Regions from separate parts of the Homo sapiens genome. Here all the other regions are linked to region 1. The links are contacts of gene promoters, found by promoter capture Hi-C in blood cells and fetal thymus (Javierre and others, 2016). All regions are on one chromosome and are shown on one strand. Each heading gives the region's core, a stretch centred on a gene start or on the middle of the fragment in contact. The rest is flanking DNA. Distances are from core to core; before and after follow the strand shown.

Region 1 (3,058 bases), core at 194-2,693:
AGATATATTTTTAAAGGCTACATGGGGTGGGTCATGCCTGTAATCCCAGTGCTTTCAGAGGCTGAGGAGAGAGGATAGCTTGAGGCCAGCAGTTGGAGACTCTAGTGAGCTATGATCGTGCCACTGCACTCCAGCCTGGGCGACAGAGACTCTAGCTCTTAAAAAAAAAAGAAAAAAACAGATGAATGATAACCTTTAGAAGGGATCGGGAGGCCGGATGTGGTGGCTCACGCCTATAATCCCAGCACTTTGGGAGGCCAAGGCAGGCAGATCACTTGAGGTCAGGAGTTTGTGACCGGCCTGGCCAACATGGTGAAACCCTGTCTCTACTAAAAATACAAATATTAGCCTGGGCAACAGAGTGAGACTCCGTCTCGGGGCGGGGAGTGGAGGGGGGAGAAGAAGGGATGGGGGAAAGGGGAGCACATGAGGCTTCTACTGTTTGGTTTTGCGATCTGGATTCAGGTTGTATGGGCATGTTCACTTTGTGTAATTTTGTCGAGCTGTAATGATTTGTGCTCTTCTCTTTATTTAACTTCAATAAAAGGTTTACTTAACAAAAATTGTAGCTGGTGTGAAGGGTAGCAGTGTTTCCCTGGGGCCAAGAGTACAGGCTTTGGGGACAGACAGACCTGGGTCCCAATCTATGCTTTGTCCCTTCGGCACATTGTTGACTGTGGCTGGTGGCTTCGTGGCTCTGAGCTTGTCTCCTTCTCTATAAATGAGGAAACATAATACTTGCGACGATGATGCCTGTAAAGCTTAAGCGCAGGACCTGGCATAGATCTGTAAGGCGGAAACCTGGGATACAGAACTAAGGTCTATGGATCTCCTGTGCTACCCAACTTCTGGGCACTCGCTGCCTCCTTTTCCCCAGCCCAGACGCGTGGGTTCTACTCGATTGGTTGCTCACTGCGGGCTCGGGGCTCCTCAATCCCGGGGTAAAGCCCAGTATGAAATGTCACCTTCAGGGGCAGCTCGGATCTTCCCACGCCCGCGCGGCGCACAATCTTTGGATCAGCGCCACGTGGAGACCTTACCCGCCCGTACGATCAATCCCTTCTGTGGAACCCAGCTCAAGGACCCTCCAGCCCAGACACTAGAAAGCGAAGAGCAGTTGGCCGCCAGACTGTCCGTGCCAGAGCTCTGCGAACTTACTCCGTTGAAAGAGCAACGGGGCTGCGCCACCTCCCGGAGAGAACCCCCAGCCCTCCACGGCAGGGCGAGATGGCGCCACCGCGTGATACTGCGCACGCCCACAGCTCCCGTCCCGCCCTCGCGCCTGCGGGTACGGACAGCGCATGAGCTTATGTTGAGGGCGGAGCCCAGACCAGCCCTTCGTCCTATCCTGCCCTTCCAGCACCTCTCAGCCGTAACTTAAACTACACTTCCCAGAAGCCTCCTCAGCCAGGGACTTCCGTTGTCGTCAGCGGAAGCGGTGACAGATCATCCCAGGCCACACAGAGGCCGGCTTGGTCACTATGGAGGAGATAGGCATCTTGGTGGAGAAGGCTCAGGTACAGTGGGGACTTGGGCTTTTTAGTCCGGGCCGGGCTCGCGGGGAGAGGGTGAAGCCAGACCTGAGTGGGGGGAGGAATGGCTTCCAGGACCCCGGCCCAGGTTGGGGTTATTTTAGAGGCCTCGGTGGAGAGCTTTGTGCCATTCGAAGGCCTGTCTGGGTGGCCGAGTGATGGTAGGAGGTAAGGCTCAGAAAGCGGGGCTGGGGGAGTGAGTGACGTTAGTGGGTCTTTGAGACGGATTGATTTCGAACCCTGGCCGGTAGTGCTTAGTGAGGTCGGTGGCCCGGCGTTGGGATTGGGTCAGGCGGTGAGTGATATATGGGATCCCGCCGTGCGGCCGAGTGATCCCCGGGTCTGGGCTGCGGGGCTGACTGATGTTCAGGGCTTTGCTGATGGGGGTAATGGGGCGGGTAGTTAAGTATTATCTGTGGCTTGCCTGAGTGATATTTAGGTCTAAGGTGAGTTAGGAGACTGTGACATAAGGGATCTTTGAGGGGAAACTGGGGAATGTTGGGACTCGTTGAAGGCGCAGTCACTTTAACAGCCTATCTAGGAGAGCCATGTGACATTAGGAACCTCTTGAAGGGGATTGGGTGGCATTTGGGTCTGATAAGGAGTTGATGTGACGTTTAGATCCTAGTTGGGGGTTGTGTGACACTGGGGACATGTTATGAGTGGTATATGATAACATAAGATCTGTTTGAGGGGCAAGTTGACATAAAGAGCTTGTTTAGGTGGCCAAAAGGTTTCCAGGATCTATTTAGAGGGTCTTAAGATATCAGGGGTCTGTTAGGGGCTAAGTGACATCAGGGTGAAGTGGGGAGGGGAACAAACATTAGTGAAGTTGGGAAGCTTTCATGAGAGGACTGTCTTCTTCCAATGTGAGTTATCCCCTTTCGTCTAGGATGAGATCCCAGCACTGTCCGTGTCCCGGCCCCAGACCGGCCTGTCCTTCCTGGGCCCTGAGCCTGAGGACCTGGAGGACCTGTACAGCCGCTACAAGGTACATTCGACCCCCAACCCAGACCTTGCACAGGACCTGACATCTCATACTCTTCCCCACTTTCCACCACTCTCTGGATCAGCAAGTCTGGAGCCATCCCCTTCTGTCCCCTCTCTGCTCGCAGAAGCTGCAGCAAGAGCTGGAGTTCCTGGAGGTGCAGGAGGAATACATCAAAGATGAGCAAAAGAACCTGAAAAAGGAATTTCTCCATGCCCAGGAGGAGGTGAAGCGAATCCAAAGCATCCCGCTGGTCATCGGACAATTTCTGGAGGCTGTGGATCAGAATACAGCCATCGTGGGCTCTACCACAGGTGTGCTAAGGACACCTCATTCATTCATCTGTCCACTTAACAACTATTTCCTACCATGTGCTAGGCAGCAGCAAACAAGGCAGGGCAGTGCAGTGCAATGTTCTTCAGAGTATTTTGACTGATCGAAAGGTAGAAATACATACATATATATATATATACACATATATATATGTATATCTATGTTTTTTTTGTTTGTTTGTTTTTTGTTTTGAGACAGAGTTTTG
Region 2 (2,854 bases), core at 208-2,707, 430 kb before region 1:
CTTCATTCCTTCTTTCTTTCATCTCATTCTGTTACCCAGACTGGAGTGCAGTGGCACAATCACAGCTCAACGTGGCCTCAACCTTCCGAGCTCAAATAATCCTCCCACTTCAGTCTCCTGAGTACCTGGGACTACAGGTGTACACCACCACACCCAGTTAATTTTTAATTTTTTTGTAGAGACAGGGTCTCCTTATGTTGCCCAGGCTGGTCTCAAAGTCCTGGGCTCAAACGACCCGCCTGTCTCAGCCTCCCAAAGTGCTGGGATTATAGGGTGAGCCAGAGCACTCGGCCTCCAGCCTACATTTTCATTATGGTTTATAAATACTTTATTTTCTTGATAGTTATTATATTCATTACCATTTTTTTTATGAAGTCTCGCTCTGTTGCCCAAGCTGAAGTACAGTGGTGTGATCTTGGGTCACTGCAACCTCTGCCTCCCAGTTCCAGTGATTCTCCTGCCTCAGCCTCCTGAGTAGCTGGGATTACAGGTGCGCGCCACCATGCCCGGCTAATTTTTGTATTTTTAGTAGAGACAGGGTTTTATTATATTGGCCAGGCTGGTCTCGAACTCCTGACCTCATGATCCGCCAGGCTTTGGCCTCCCAAAGTGCTGATATTACAGGCGTGAACCACTGTGCCCGGCTTATTACCATTCTTTTATGGATCTTGTAATATTAAAACATGCATCTTATATACTGACTCTCCAATTAATTTCCCTTTGTTCTGATTAATGTGAACAAACAAAATAATTTGATTTGATTTTGCTGGTGGTGGTCCCCGTCATGATGCCATGATTCATGACCATCAACAAATGACTTAAGTGACTTATCGTTCTCTGCCCTATCAGAAGTAGCTATTCTGAGGCAGTAAGGTCTCATCCACAGAGCACAAGACTGCATTTTAATTTTCCTGGTCCAAGCACCAAATTAATAAAACACAACAGCTAGTCTACTTGCTGCTTCCCACCAGCATCTCTGCAATCACTAAGTGTGCGGCTCCTTTAAGGCAGCTCCCAGGCTAGGCTGGAGACAGATCTATTGTTCTCACCCTCAGGCTGCCTGGAGAGTCACAAATATTTAACAAAGGAAGTTCCAGACTTAGGTGACAACATATATTATCACAGGAAGAAGTAGAAATCATAGTAATTTGCTGTAATCCTACAGAAGCGGATATAATCTTGTTCTCTGGACTAAGAGTCACCTTACAGCAGAAGCTGAAAGGCCCTCTGATTTTCTAAGAATAGAAATTGCTCTAAGTAAAATGATGGTTTATTAGATCCGGAAGTGATATAAAAATGGTTCTAGGAAAATGAAGTGAACTAAAATAAGAAGCTACAAATAGAGGAAGGCAGAAAAACTTGGTGATAATGTGAGGGGATACAAACAAAAATTTGAGAGGTAGTCCAGGTTTGCTGTTGCTCCCAAGACTGTGCCTGCGGTGGCTGCAGCATCTTTGTAATTCACTGCCACTATTTCGGGATGACTTGAGGATGATTGTAACCATGTTGTAGACTAAACCATTAAGGCAGCTGGGATCAGGGGCTCCATATTGCTTAAAATCTTTACAGCAGAGGTGTGTGTGTGTGTGTGTGTGTGTGTGTGTGTGTGTGAGAGAGAGAGAGAGAGAGAGAATTTGAATCCAATTAATATATATATTTTGAGAGAGTCTGGCTCTGTCATCCAGGCTGGAGTACAGTGGCGCGATATCTTGGTTCACTGCAACCTCCACCTTCCAGGTTCAAGTGATTCTCCTGGAGAATCCCGCCACTGCACTCCAGCCTGGGTGACACAGTGAGATTCTGTCTAGAAAAAGAAAAAAAAAAGACATAGATTCTTGGCTGGGCGTGGTGGCTCATGCCTGTAATCTCAGCACTATGGGAGGCCAAGACAGGAGGACTGCTCGAGGCCAGGATTTCCAGACCAGGCCTGGGCAACATAGCAAGACCCTGTCTCTAAAAGAAGAAATTAGCCAGACATGGTAGTGTGTGGCTAGCTACTCAGGAAGCTGAAGCAGGAGGATCATTTGAGCCCAGGAGTTCAGGGCTACAATGAGCCATGATTGTGCCACTGCACTCCAGCTTGGATGACAGAGTAAGACTCTGTCTCAATAATAATTAGAAAAAAGAAGTAGATTTTTTTTCTCCATCCTTTGAATGAGAACTGGTTTATGACTTGTTTGACCCATAAGATGTGGTAGAAATGATGGTTCATCAGTTTCAAGACTAGTGCTCATGAGGAATTTCATACTTCTCATTCTCTCTCTAACTCTATAACTCATCTCCACCATGAGGACAAGTCTGGACCAGCTTTCTGGAGGGTGGAAGACCATTCAGAGTGGAGGAATGTGGTCTCAGACAAGGCATTCAAAATCAGTCAGTCTGGCTGGGCTCAGTGGCTCACGCCTGTAAACCCAGCACTTTGAGAGGCCGAGGTGGGCAGATCACCTGAGGTCAGGAGTTTGAGACCAGCCCGGCCAACATGGTGAAACCTTGTCTCTCCTAAAAAATACAAAAATAAGTTGGGCTTGATGGTGCGTGTCTGTAGTCCCAGGAGGTTGAGGCAGGAGAATCGCTTGAACCCAGGAGGCAAAGGCAGTGAGCCAAGATTGCACCACTGCACTCTGGCCTGGGCAACAAAGTAAGACTCTGCCTCAAAAAAAAAAAAAAAATCAGTCAGTCCCCAGCTGACCTACCAACTGACTCTTAGATGCATAGGCTCAATAAGTGCTTCTTGTTTTATGCCACAGTGTTTGATATGATTTGCTATGCAGTATCATTGTGGCAATAGATAACTGTTAGCTAACGGTTGCAGAAATTGGTACCAGGAGCTGGGCACTGCCCTAACAAAATCCTC
Region 3 (2,967 bases), core at 111-2,610, 450 kb after region 1:
ACATTTGAATGGAGCCCTCAGGCCAGAGAAGTCAGCCATGGGAGACCCTGGGAAAAGCATTCCGGGAGGAGGGAACAACAAAAAAAGGCAGAGAAAAGCCCAGAGGCTGGATGGGCTTGAACTGGAAAGAGACCAGCATGGGTGGCACACAGAGAGTGACATGGTAGGAGACCAGATTGGGGAGCAGCTAGGGGAACGGGCACAAGCCAGGTCACAGAAAGCCACATATGCAGAAGTAGGGAGTTTGGATTTTATCCTGAGTGTGGTGGGCAGTCATTAAAGGAATTTGAGCAGGGAGGGAATGGTGCTGTGAGCTGATTAGGTTTCCGGAAGATCCCCCCCATGGCTGCTTCGAGGAAGACTGTGGGGGGCAAAAAGAGGGGGGATCTGAGACCCACTGGTAGGCTGTACTCGTTTGGGACGGACGATGGTGATGGCCTGGAGTAGGAGCTGGTAGTGGCATGGAAGGAAGTCGGTCGAGTCAGGACTTATTTGGGAGGCAGAATAGACAGGGCTTGTCGGGAAATCGTGATCGGCACCGGGTTCAGTCACTGAGATAAGTTTGAGGGTCCACTGTTCTTGGAGTGGCGGGGGTAGGGCTGGAGTTTTGGACTCCTGGCGCTACCTACTTTTTTGGGCCAGGAAGACTGTAGAGTCCAGTTTCGGAACCCTGCCTAGCAAGATTTTAAGAATGGCCCACCACACTACTCAAAACAGGGTCTTCGTCCCCTTCCCCGCAGTCCGGGGAGTCCGGAACCGCAGGAATTCCGCCCCCACCCCCGACTCCGCCCCCGGGTCCCGGCGCCCCCTAGCGGTGCCCAGGCCGGCTTTCCCCCGGGGATTCTGGCCCCTCTGACCCCAGGACCCCTTCTACTGCCCCGATTCCCGGCTGTGATTCCTGCCGGCCTCCCGGCGCCGTGCGAGCCGGGACCCCTGGCGGGCTGTTCTCTGCGCCCGGCCTCCGCTCGCTTCCGGCAGTGGAGGCGGCTCCTCCCGAAGCGGCGGCGGCGGGGGCGGGTGAGTCACGCAGCCGGAGCCAAGAAGCCGGCGCCTCCGCCCCCTTCTCGGACTGCGGCGTGATTCACCCGGCCCGGCCGGGGCAGACAGCACGTAGAGGTCCGTGCGTCTCGATCCCGGGCAGCCCCGGCGGGCACCTGTCGGACCCAGGGATCGAACTCTGTGAAGGACCCGGCCGCTGGTAGCCCTTCTGTTCCCAGGCCCCTTCATTTACATACCTTGCTCACTAGCGGCCAATCAGAACGAAGAGGTAGCCACCCACAACCAATCAGGAAACGGCGGCGGCAGCATCGCTTGTTGGCTGTCCTCCGGAAACCCGCGCCTGGGTCGCGAGACGCAGTTCTGACTCCGGCTCACGACTCCAGACTCCTAACTACCCTTAGCGACCGCCCACTCTCGTGGCTGCCCCGCCCTCCGCCCCAGGGATTGGCCCTGCATGGTGATGGGCGGAGCTTGTAGGGGGCGGATTCTGAAGGAGGGGCTTCAGGGCGCATGCCCGGGCAGCTGCGCGAGTGAGGGGTGGAAAGAGGTGGCTTTTTACTCCGGGGAACGGTGGCGAGTGGGGGCTTTTGCCTCTCAAAATACGAGCCCCTCACAACTACCCATGCACCTGCCAAACCCGGCAATTAAGCTTCTTACACATCCAGCCCCGACAGGGGTCTACACTACAGATAATGCCCGGGTTCAAATTCCGACTCCGGATTCCCCACTCACTGGATGCGTGACCTTGGAAAAATGATCAACCTCTTCAAGCTACACAAAGTTAAATGGGGATCGTCTTGCCTACCTCTTGACAGGATACTTTAAGTAGGATCGTATCTATAAGAACACAATACCACACTCAAGCAATGCTGGACAGTTGGACTTAATTGTGGTTAAAGGCGGGAGTGAGGTGGGAGTGCGATACCAACGGAATCACATCCCGGGCTCCATTCCCTAAGCAGCTGTGTGACCTGCGGCAAGTGTTTTAATCCCTTCTGGTCTGTTTCTCCTTTAAAATGAGAGAAAATAGCGCCTAGTTTACAGGATTGTTTTTAAGGATTAAATTAATTCATGAAAAATCTTCAGAGTGGGGTGCAACATGTTTTGTGTTTTTTTTTTTTTTTTCATTTTATTTATTTATTTATTTATTTATTTGAGACAGATTCTCACTCCGTCGCCCAGGCTGGAGTGCAGGGGCACGATCTCGGTTCACTGTAACCTCCGCCTCCCAGGTTCAAGCAATTATCCTGCCTCAGCCTCCCGAGTAGCTGGGACTACAGGCGTGCGCCACCACGCCCGGTTAATTTTTGTATTTTTAGTAGAGATGGGGTTTCACCATGTTAGCCAGGCAGGTCTCAAACTCCTCACCTCAGGTGATCCGCCCTCCTCGGCCCCTGAGTGTTGGGATTACAGGCGTGAGCTACCGCGCCCAGCTGCTTATTATTTTTTTCTTTACTTTTTATTTTATTTTATTTTGCTTTTGAGACAGGGTCTCGCTCTGTCACCCAGGCTGAAGTGCAGGGGTGCCATCTCGGCTCACTGCAGCCTCCCAGGTTCAAGCCATCCTCCTGCCTCAGACCCCCAAGCAGCTGGGACTACAGGCGCACACCACCATGCCTGGTTAGCAACGTTGTTTCTTTGTTAGTAGTAATAGCTGTTGTAATAAGACAAGCTCTTAGTTCAAGGTGGATAGACATGCAGGATGGGGCTAGAGGTAGACAGGGTATAATACTCCTCCCATGGCCGGATGCAGTGGCTCACGCCTGAATACTCTCTCACCTAGATTTAATTGATAGTTGTTAGCTAGGCAACAACTGTAATCCAGTACTTTGGGAGGCCAAGGCAGGAGGGTCACTTGAGTCCAGGAGTTCACTTGAGTCCAGCCTGGGCAACACAGTGAGATCTCATCACTACAAAAAAATTTAAGAATTAGCCAGGCGTGGGCCGGGCGTGGTGGCTCACGCCTGT

The links. The method cuts DNA at HindIII sites, captures the fragments that hold promoters and counts their contacts. A CHiCAGO score of 5 or more calls a contact.
Region 2: a contact is called between a fragment that was not itself captured here and the fragment with the promoter of PSMC4 in region 1, in 2 of 17 cell types (naive CD4 T cells and total CD4 T cells). The highest score is 6.9, in naive CD4 T cells.
Region 3: the fragment with the promoter of SERTAD1 here is called in contact with the fragment with the promoter of PSMC4 in region 1 in 1 of 17 cell types (naive B cells); the score reaches 5.1 in naive B cells.

What each region holds. Positions count from the first base shown.
Region 1 is chr19:39,969,722-39,972,779 of GRCh38, forward strand. It overlaps PSMC4 (proteasome 26S subunit, ATPase 4), which reads left to right and starts at 1,444. Exons shown (of 11, transcript NM_006503.4): 1 at 1,444-1,517; 2 at 2,425-2,523; 3 at 2,648-2,834. The coding sequence starts at 1,482. LOC124904720 (a long non-coding RNA gene) reads right to left here and starts at 1,250. Exons shown (of 3, transcript XR_007067260.1): 1 at 1,159-1,250; 2 at 633-715. RefSeq lists enhancers at 764-813, 1,314-1,703, 1,728-2,407. The HindIII fragment of the contact is 1,611 bases long and covers 760-2,370 here.
Region 2 is chr19:39,541,361-39,544,214 of GRCh38, forward strand. No RefSeq gene overlaps it. Among named protein-coding and RNA genes, the nearest start is that of EID2, 2.6 kb to the left of the region's middle. The HindIII fragment of the contact is 4,487 bases long and covers 1-2,854 here.
Region 3 is chr19:40,424,632-40,427,598 of GRCh38, forward strand. SERTAD1 (SERTA domain containing 1) reads right to left here and starts at 1,361. Exons shown (of 2, transcript NM_013376.4): 1 at 1,236-1,361. RefSeq lists an enhancer at 1-686 and a silencer at 729-818. The HindIII fragment of the contact is 9,774 bases long and covers 1-1,646 here.